Regions from separate parts of the Homo sapiens genome. Here region 1 is linked to region 2. Evidence: promoter capture Hi-C in 16 types of primary human blood cells and fetal thymus (Javierre and others, 2016). All regions are on one chromosome and are shown on one strand. Each heading gives the region's core, a stretch centred on a gene start or on the middle of the fragment in contact. The rest is flanking DNA. Distances are from core to core; before and after follow the strand shown. Region 1 overlaps LIMA1 (LIM domain and actin binding 1). Region 2 holds the start of BCDIN3D (BCDIN3 domain containing RNA methyltransferase).

The links. The method cuts DNA at HindIII sites, captures the fragments that hold promoters and counts their contacts. A CHiCAGO score of 5 or more calls a contact.
Region 1: a fragment that was not itself captured here is called in contact with the fragment with the promoter of BCDIN3D in region 2 in 1 of 17 cell types (M2 macrophages); the score reaches 5.7 in M2 macrophages.

What each region holds. Positions count from the first base shown.
Region 1 is chr12:50,175,300-50,180,172 of GRCh38, forward strand. LIMA1 (LIM domain and actin binding 1) reads right to left here. Exons shown (of 11, transcript NM_016357.5): 11 at 489-2,770. The coding sequence ends at 1,765. Among named protein-coding and RNA genes, the nearest start is that of CERS5, 10 kb to the left of the region's middle. The HindIII fragment of the contact is 2,538 bases long and covers 1,069-3,606 here.
Region 2 is chr12:49,841,699-49,846,374 of GRCh38, forward strand. BCDIN3D (BCDIN3 domain containing RNA methyltransferase) reads right to left here and starts at 1,408. Exons shown (of 2, transcript NM_181708.3): 1 at 1,156-1,408. The coding sequence starts at 1,389. RefSeq lists enhancers at 751-1,120, 1,691-1,750. The HindIII fragment of the contact is 7,812 bases long and covers 1-4,676 here.

The DNA of each region.
Region 1 (4,873 bases), core at 1,088-3,587, 330 kb after region 2:
TTGAAGTGAGCCGAGATGGTGCCACTGTACTGTAGCCTGGGCGACAGAGCAAGACTCGGTCTACAAAAAAAAAAAAAAAAAAAAAGCATCTGCCTAAAGTGAAAAACAAGTCCATTTTCAGCAGAGACATTTGGAAATCCATTCAGCATGCTAGGCATAATTGTAAGGTGAATTATTCAATGTTGAGTGTTATAAACAATAAAAACCACCACTAGATTTCGAATTGGTAAAATACCTCATTTTGAATGCACACATTAATTCTCTTGCCAAGTTGCCTGCAATTTTCCAGAAAAATTTGTCTTCCTTCAGGGAGGATTGAAATCCAAGATCAGCCCAACACTACCATCTAGTGGTGAGATGTATTGATAATGCTTCTATTCAACTAAAACTTAAAAAAGTGGTACCATTTTTTTCTTCCCAAACTGCAAAAGTAGATCCTGAGAGACAGTAATAACGTAAGAAAATAATGGAAGAGAAACATTGAAAAGTTCAAATTTTAATTAAAATCTTTATTGAATAAAAATGTTTCAGACTAGGTAAGACTAAGAAAGCAGAATGTTTTACATCTCTAAAAAATATTAAAGCTAAATCTCTATAAATGCAGTACAAAGAAAAGCCTACAGCTTAAGACACCTCTCCCTCCCATCCATACAATTTGGAATATCAACTGTGTACAACAAATGTACTCAAGTTTATAATGTCCCCAAACCTTAAGACTAGAAAATCATCCCAAGAAAAAGGCCTATAGTTGGTTTAATTTCACCCTGAGAATACTGTGATAAAAATCAATATATTTCAGAGCTAGTAAGTATTTAAAAATTAGTGTCTCAAAAAGGGGACATCATAAGGGAAATACAGGGTTTAGAGGTCTGAGCTCAAGTGGTGTAAGACAGTTCTTTCTTCTTCCTCCTTTAAACTCTTCACTTTGCTCTAACACGGAAGATGGGGGACAGTGATCCCGAAGGTATTACTAAAATATTGCAGCTTTCAGTAATTATGAGAAGCACAGATATCACCAGAAAAGAAAGCAATCATTTGGAGTACAGTAAATTCACTGGCAGATACAAAAGCTTATTTGGGAGACAGCAGATCTCTCTAAGCACCGAAGAGTGTAGGTTGGTTTTTCAATTGCCTCAAAAAGTGCTCTGTTGTATTATACCTCAGGACGTCGAGTTCAGGATGTAGTTTAGAGAGCAGGACATAAAGTAGTAAATTCCTCATATATATCACAGCAAGAAAATTAACCTAAAAAATTTAAAGACTAAATAATCTCTTAACAGGTAAATACTAAAAAATTAAATTGGTATTCATTTAAAAATATACAAACTGTGCCCTTTATACTAAAGTGCATTCAGTCGTAATGTTTAAGCCCCTAAATTCCTTCTGTATGTTCTCTAATTCCAAAATAGTGTGTAACAATATACTACTAATCATCTGTCTACCTTAATATTGCCTTTTGGGAATACAGTAGAATCTGGGCTATTATCAGGTGGAATATTTCCCCAGTTACAAGCCTTACAGCACTTATGCATATCATCACTGCTAAAATGAAGAATTTAAGTAAAGTTATCTCTAGTATTTAGAATGTGTTTTTTGTGTTTTTTTGTTTTGTTTTTGATTTTAAGAAGGAATTCTTTTCCAAAGTTACTTCCAAGTAAATTACATTTCATGCTGGGATACCTGCTTATGTGCATCACATTTTGACAAAGGGCAGTGGCTCGCTAACACTAACATGAATTTAAGGCCCAGCATCATTGCAATTTGTCACTCTTCATCCTCATCCTCATCATAATACCGATTTCTCTTTATCTGTTCTTCCACAGAGAGCTCTTTGACCACTTCTCCCTCCCAGAGTTCCACATCCTGGGATTTCTGATTCTGAGTAGTGAATTCTTCAGCAAAGGTGTTGTCTACAAAACTCGACCAATTCAGAGACTTGGGTTCTTGTGGAGATTGTTGTTTGAGGAAGCTGTTATCATCTTCATCGGAGTCTGCACCATTTTCTACAAGATTCTCATTCTCCATCTCCAAACTATGACCTTCCTTACTTCTCTTCCCTGTCTCTCCTTTAGATTCTTTGTTTTGCCAGGTTGTTTTTCCCACATTCCCATTCTTCTTAGAAGCCTTGGCATTTTCCACTTGTTTCCTTTCTGCAACTCTTCCACCCACAGACTCTTCACTCTGCTCTGACATGCTCCAGCCTTTCCTGATAGGTGGGGACACAGTTTTTGGGCTCTTGACAGAGGTGCTTTGAAATGAAGCTGCTACAGTGAATGGGCGGCTTCTTTCCTTCAGTGAAGAAGATCGTCTTAGCTTCTTCAGATCTAGATCGACATCCTCAGGAACTTCGGGCTTGCTGATTTCGTCTTCAGGAGGCCATTTGGGCTTTGACATTTTGATCCCTTCCTCCAAGGCACTTCCTGAACTTCCAAGTTCAGTGGGGGGTGGCCAGGCGATCCTCAGCTTCTTGGTTTCAGCTGGCTTGTCTTCCTTCTCCTGCTGAGAGGAGGCCTTGGCTTCCATACTTGCAGCCAGGACACCCACCTTAGCAATAGGGGCATCTTCTACCCCTGGGCTGTGAGGGGTCTCCCTTGCATTTGCAAGCTGGGCTGGTCTCTCCAAAATCTCTTCGTTTTCATTTTTGCTTGCCCATAGATCCTTGTGTGGTCTGTGCCCAAAGCCTTCATCATAGTTGCCCTTAGATTTAAAGAGTTGATTGAAGTGAGGCTTACAATAGATTCTTCCATGTAAAGATGCATATGTTCCTAGACTGTCATTAAAAGAAAAAAAGCATAAACTTAGCAAATCTTCACATTCTCACTTATACCAGGAGGCTAAAATCTGGCAATTCCAGTATTTTCAGAAGATGCCAAGTAAGAAAAAGATCTTTAAAAGCCCTTCAGTGACCAGGAATTCCTTACCCCCATTTTAGCACATTTGTTTTCTTATCATAACACAAAGCACGGGTTGGGTGCAGTGGCTCATGCCTGTAATCCCAGCGCTTTGGGAGGCCAGGGTGAGAGGATCGCTTGAGCCCAGGAGTTTGAGACCAGCCCGGCCAACATAGTGAGAATTCATCTCTACAAAAAATTTAAAAATTAGCTGGGTGTGGTGGCACATGCCTGTAGTCTCAGCTACTTGGGAAGCTGAAGTGGGAGAATCACTTGAACCCGGGAGGCAGAGGTTGCAGTGAGCTGAGATTGTGCCACTGTGATAGAGCGAGACTGTCTTAAAAAAAAAAAAAAAGAAAAAAAAACCAACAGTAATAGAAACTTTAAATCATTCTGAGCCTTGAGAGGAATGTGGCTATGCAACCTGGGTCACACAGCATGTAGCTGCAACTCTTTCTTTTCACTATAAATTATGAAGACCAAAGGGCACCAGAGATAAGACCCCCTCAGATCACTATCCCTTCTTTGCGAGTGATAATCTTCCTTGGAATGTACCAATCTGTACCCAATCAAATCACTGTGGTATATGCACTGGTCTTATATGAAAAATGTCATAATCTTTGCTAAAATTTCTGTGTAAGTGAAACTAACTTTCTCCACTTTGGAATGCTGACCCCATTCATTTGGAGTCAGTGTTTCTGGGTAGCCATCATCAAGCTTTTGTGCTTGAATTAACTCTATTCTTAACGGTATATAAATACATATATATATATATATTTTTTTTTTCTTTTTCTTTTCTTTTTTTGAGAGAATCTCGCTCTGTCGCCCAGGCTGGAGTGCAGTTGCACAATCTTGGCTCACTGCAACCTCCGCCTCCCAAGTTTAAGCAATTCTCCTGCCTCAGCCTCCTGAGTAGCTGGGATTACAGGAGTGCGCCACCACGCCTGGCTAATTTTTGTATTGTTTTGTTTTGTTAGAGTCTCGCTCTGTCGCCAGGCTGGAGTGCAGTGGCATGATCTCAGCTCACTGCAACCTCTGCCTCCTGGGTTCAAGCGATTCTCCTACCTCAGCCTCCTGAGTAGTTGGGACTACAGGTGTGTGCCACCATGCACGGCAAATTTTTGTATTTTTAGTAGAGACGGGGTTTCACCATGTTGGCCAGGATAGTCTCGATCTCTTGACCTCGTGATCTGCCCGCCTCGGCCTCCCAAAGGGCTGGGATTACAGGCGTGAGCCACCACGCCCAGCCATTTTTGTTTTTTTTTGAGACAGAGTCTCGCTCTGTCACCCAGGCTGGAGTGCAGTGACACGATCTCAGCTCACTGCAAGCTCCGCCTCCCAGGTTCACGCCATTCTCCTGCCTCAGCCTCCCGAGTAGCTGGGACTACAGGCACTCGCCACCACACCTGACTAATATTTTGTATTTTTAGTAGAGACGGGGTTTCACCTTGTTAGCCAGGATGGTCTCAATCTCCTGACCTCGTGATCTGCCCACCTCGGCCTCCCAAAGTGCTGGGATTACAGGCATGAGCAACTGCACCCAGCCATTTTTTGTTGTTTTTTTTTTTGAGTGGAGGTCTTGCTCTGTCACCCAGGCTGGAGTGCAATGGTATGATCATAGCTCACTGCAGCCTTGACCTCCAGGGCTCAAGTGATCCTCCAGCCTCAGTCTCAGCCTCCCCAAATTTTTCATAGAGATGGGATCTCCGGCCAGGTGCAGTCCCAGCACTTTGGGAGGCCGAGGTGGGCAGATCACTTGAGGTCAGAAGTTTGAGACCAGCCTGACCAACATGGTGAAACCCCATCTCTACTAAGAAATACAAAAATTGGCCAGGCGTGGTTGCTCACACCTGTAATCCCAGCACTTTGGGAGGCCGAGGAGGGCAGACTGACTGAGGTCAGGAGTTCAAGACCAGCGTGGCTAACATGGTGAAACCTCATCTCTATGAAAAATACAAAAATTAGCCAGGCATGTTGCACAC
Region 2 (4,676 bases), core at 158-2,657:
AATGTCCCCTTCCTACTATCATCTGAGTCCCACAAGGTCTGAAGTCGTCCCCCAAAGTCTCTTCTGTAAAAGGACAGCAACGTAACAGAATTGTCCCCCGCCCTCCAGATGCTGGACTGGAGTGATGGAGGGAGCGCAGAGAGGGTACTAACTTTTGAAGCATTTGCCGTGGTAAGTTCAGACTGCCTGCTAGTGTAGAATATCCCAGTGGCTACAAATAGGTGTGGGAGAGACATTTCCTTATTTTGCATGTGGTTTGATTATAATCATATGCCTAAGAATAGTTTGCAGCAAGAAGAGTGGCAGTGCCGCCCTTCTCCATTCCCTTGGGCAAAATGCTTTATTTGCTTCTCGATCCTCTCCACTGTACTCTGTCAACTCACTGTTTTGTTTTGTTTTTGAGACGGAGTCTCGCTCTGTCGCCCAGGCTGGAGTGCAGTGGCACTAGCTCGGCTCACTGCAAGCTCCGCCTCCCGGGTTCACGCCATTCTCCTGCCTCAGCCTCCGGAGTAGCTGGACTACAGGCGCCCGCCACCACGACCGGCTAATTTTTTGTATTTTTAGTAGAGACGGGGTTTCACCGTGTTAGCCAGGATGGTCTCGATCTCGTGACCTTGTGATCCACCCGCCTCGGCCTCCGAAAGTGCTGGGATTACAGGCGTGAGCCAGCGCGCCCGGCCTACTCACTTTTTTTGAAATAAACATGCAGGTCCCAGGGTCTGTCCTGCACTGTATAGCACACATGAGTCTCAATATCAGGCATGATTCTGTCACCCTTGGCTCTTCTCTCCCAGTAAACCAAACCTAACCCCATGTTCCCAAACGTGTGTCTCTGGAAGCCCCCTCTCCCCAGCCAAAGCGCCAGGCACGCTGGACAGAGGCCACCCTAGATACAAGGACCGTTCCCACCTGGGGTCTGGCCCTGAAAGAAAAGTGGGAACGTAGTCGACAAGGACTCCTCTCCAAGAGAGATTCCTAAGACAGATGGTGGAACCCTGGCGGGCAGGCAGCAGCGGCACTGGCTCAGTCAAAGCCACGCTTTATACTCGTTTTGGGAAAGTTTCGATGGGTGTTAGCCCAGGCCAGAACCACAGTGGATGTGTAGGCAGCCAACCACTTGGCTCCGGATGCTCCAATCCCTCCCCTGTCACTCACCCCGGAGTTACACCCCACGTCGAGCCCCAGAATCGGCCCGTTCTCGGGACTCTCAGGAAAGAGCTGTCGAAGCAGCTCCGGGGGCAGGAGGCGGAGCCGTTGCTCCGGAGGGTGGAAGCGAGAATAATGAGGAAAATTTCCGAACGGGGCGGCGCCAGGTGCCAGAACTCGCGATTCCTCTTCCGCTGCGGTCTCCTTAACACTCCCTCCATCCAGTTCCGTGGGCACCGCCATTAGCCTCAACACAGCCTCTGGGCCGTGGCGGAACCGGAAGCCGGGAACCTGCTGTCGGCGTGGGCGGTGGCGGTGCCAGCGCGCGTGCGTCGAACGGCTAGGGCGGGTGGCTAGAATTCTGCGGTGAATCAGAAAAGCTGTCCTGATTTCCTCTCGCTGTATACCTGGAGCCGGCGAGCGCCTGGGGCTTGCCTTGTATTATTGAACCCTCATCACAACACTGGGAGGGGATTAGCAATATCATCCACGTTTTACAGGGATGAAACAAACTCTGAGGGCTAAGTGTCTTGGCCAAGCTGACATAGTTTGAAACTTGGGCTACTTGACCCAGAACAAGTATACTAGTTTGTTGGGATCTTGGAAATCAATTTTAGTCCAATTTCCTTTCTTTATAAATGCAAAAAGTGAGACCGAGAGAACTTACTTGTCTGGGGTCATACATTGAATCTGTGACTCAAAAACTTCCACCCGGTTCAGGAAAGGGTAGCCAGGAGGTGCAGGTCACTTGCGAAGCCAGCCGACTCAGCCCTGTCCCCCAGGGGCAACTGTAGACCATGAGCTCCTTGAGAGGCAAGGACCGTGCCTTAAGAGCCAGCACTTAAAGAGTGCTTACCAGGCACCAGACACCCTTGTAAGCTCCTTAGTCAATCCTCTCACCCCGTGAGAAAATGACCGTATTATTATTCTTTTTATATAGATGAGGACACTGGAGTAAAACAAAGTAACTTGTCCAAGATCCCACAGTTAGAAATGATGGTACTAGGATTCGAACCCAGGGAGTTTGGATCCAGAGGATGTGCTTGCAACGGTGTGTTATTCTCAGCCTTGAGTCTCCTATACTTAACATGGGCCTGGCACAAAGATGCTCAACAAATGTTGTTGAATGAAAACTCAATAGAGAATACAATAAGGCCAGATCTGTTTGGGGAAACTTTAAATGGAAGGGAGAAAGGATGCCAACTGAAGCAGACATAGTGGAATGGAGTTGGGCAAGATGTGACTCAGAGATTGGAAATAACAGAGCTGATAAGGAGAGGAACTGAAGGGTCAACCTAGGTAGCAGGTTCCAGTCAAAAGCCAGGATGGCCCAGAATATCCGTCAGGGTCAACCAAGCATCAGCAGAGTTGTGCAGGACCCCCAACCCCACCCCTGCACCTGGCCCACCCATCTTAAAGGGGTATCCTGCTCCATGAGGCTGGCAGTTCGGTAAACTTCTTATAAGGCACTGGAGCATGACTCCTGCAAACAGTACCATCAGGAGTTAAAATAAGCGCTGTTTTCCTCTCAGTTTTTACTTTATATTTTCTTTTTCTTTTCTCCTTTTTTTGAGATAGAGTCTCACACTATTGCCTGGGCTGGAGTGCAATGACATGATCTCGGCTCACTGCAACCTTTGCCTCCCAGGTTCAAGTGATTCTCCTGCCTCAGCCTCCCAAGTAGCTGGAATTACAGGCACCCGCCACCATTCCTGGCTAAGTTTTTGTATTTTTTAGTAGAGACGGGGTTTCACTATGTTGGCCAGGCTGGTCTCGAACTCCTGACCTCGTGATCTGCCCACCTCGGCCTCCCAAAGTGTTGGGATTACAGGCGAGAGCCACCACGCCCAGCCTTTATATTTTCATCTCTATCTGGCCTGCTGTTTCTCTAGTTTCACTTATTTGAGGACACAAGTTAATAAAAGTCACTCTGGAATTTAGTAAACCACAGTATTCTGCACAATTACAGAAAAGGAGAAAAAGCTGCACCGTTTTGACAAATTTTGGTGAGCTGAGCTGAACTTACCTCTTTTTGTCACTAGATGAAGCTAGCACAAATAATTAACAATTTTCAAGGAGCTGGAATCACCTTGCTTCCAGGACAGTGAATGGCAAGAACTCCTGACCCTGGGGTTCCTCCAGAAGCAAAGATAGGCCCTCGTAACATTACTGGTAATCTAAAATGCCTGACAGGTGACCTCATAAAGAGGTGTTTTAATTTGATCCACTCTGGTAACTTTTCTAACCTATGACCACTTTTCAGAGCCTGAACAGCACAGGTGTCTTGACAATACTTGACAATACCAGCCCCAGCACCTTAAATAGCTGTAGCAGCACCTAAGAGCTCGCTCTGCACTTTGGTCAGCCAGGTTTTATGGAGTGAGATGCATATATAATTTCAAGGGAAAGGGGAAGAAGGGGCGCCCTCTTTAAGGAAAAAACTCCCACCAACTTACAAATATAAAGACAGGTATAAAAGTGAATATTTATTTATAATGAGAAATCACAACAAATTACAAATTTTGAAAAGCTGACTACTAAAAGCATCACAACAAATTTTCTATAGGCTTGGTGTGGTGGCTCACACCTGTAATCCCAGCACTTTGGGAGGCCGAGGCGGGCGGATCACGAGGTCAGGAGATCGAGACCATCCTGGCTAACACGGTGAAACCCCTCTCTACTAAAAATACAAAAAATTAGCCGGGCGAGGTGGCGGTCGCCTGTAGTCCCAGCTACTCGGGAGGCTGAGGCAAGAGAATGGCGTGAACCCCAGGGGGCGGAGCCTGCAGTGAGCCGAGATCGTGCCACTGCACTCTAGCCTGGGCGACAGCAAGACTCCGTCTCAAAAAAAAAAAAAAAATTCTATAATAGTTTGATTGATTAAATGCTAGTCACACTTGAATATTACTTTTTTTCTTACATTTTTGGCTGCATACTCTTTGATTGCTTCTTCACATGACAATCACTTGATAATATCATTTTAGAGAGAGACCAGGAAGGTAATTCAGTCTTTTCTTAGCCTGGTGGATCAAATTTGTCTTTTATTATTTGTGGCAGTTATAAAAGTTTCTTTCAAGTTCACAAGTTGTTATTGGCAATGTCATGTAAATTTTTTGGTTTGTTATCAAATTGGGGGAGAACTTTGATTAAATTTCTTTCATTTATTAGCTGGAAGATTTCAGAGCATTTCAAATTTTCTTGTGCAAGAAATAATCTTAGATCTACTCTTCAAATGGACTGTATTCATTAGCCAATTTGTCGTTGAAAACCTTATTATGAATGATGCATTATAAAATTTTTATCATCTGCATTGATAGCAGTAATTTGTGTCAAGTCAGCAAAGGAATTTAAACATAGGGATTCTGATAAATTGTGTATTGTACAATTCCCATCAAGAAATAAAAGAATGCATGGTGCATTTATAATTATATATGCTGTGCTATTGAGTTACTGTGTTATTGCCGACAGGACAAAACTTGTTTTGACTGGTGTTTAATAAGAGACAGAATCTTCTGCTTATGACTGGAATA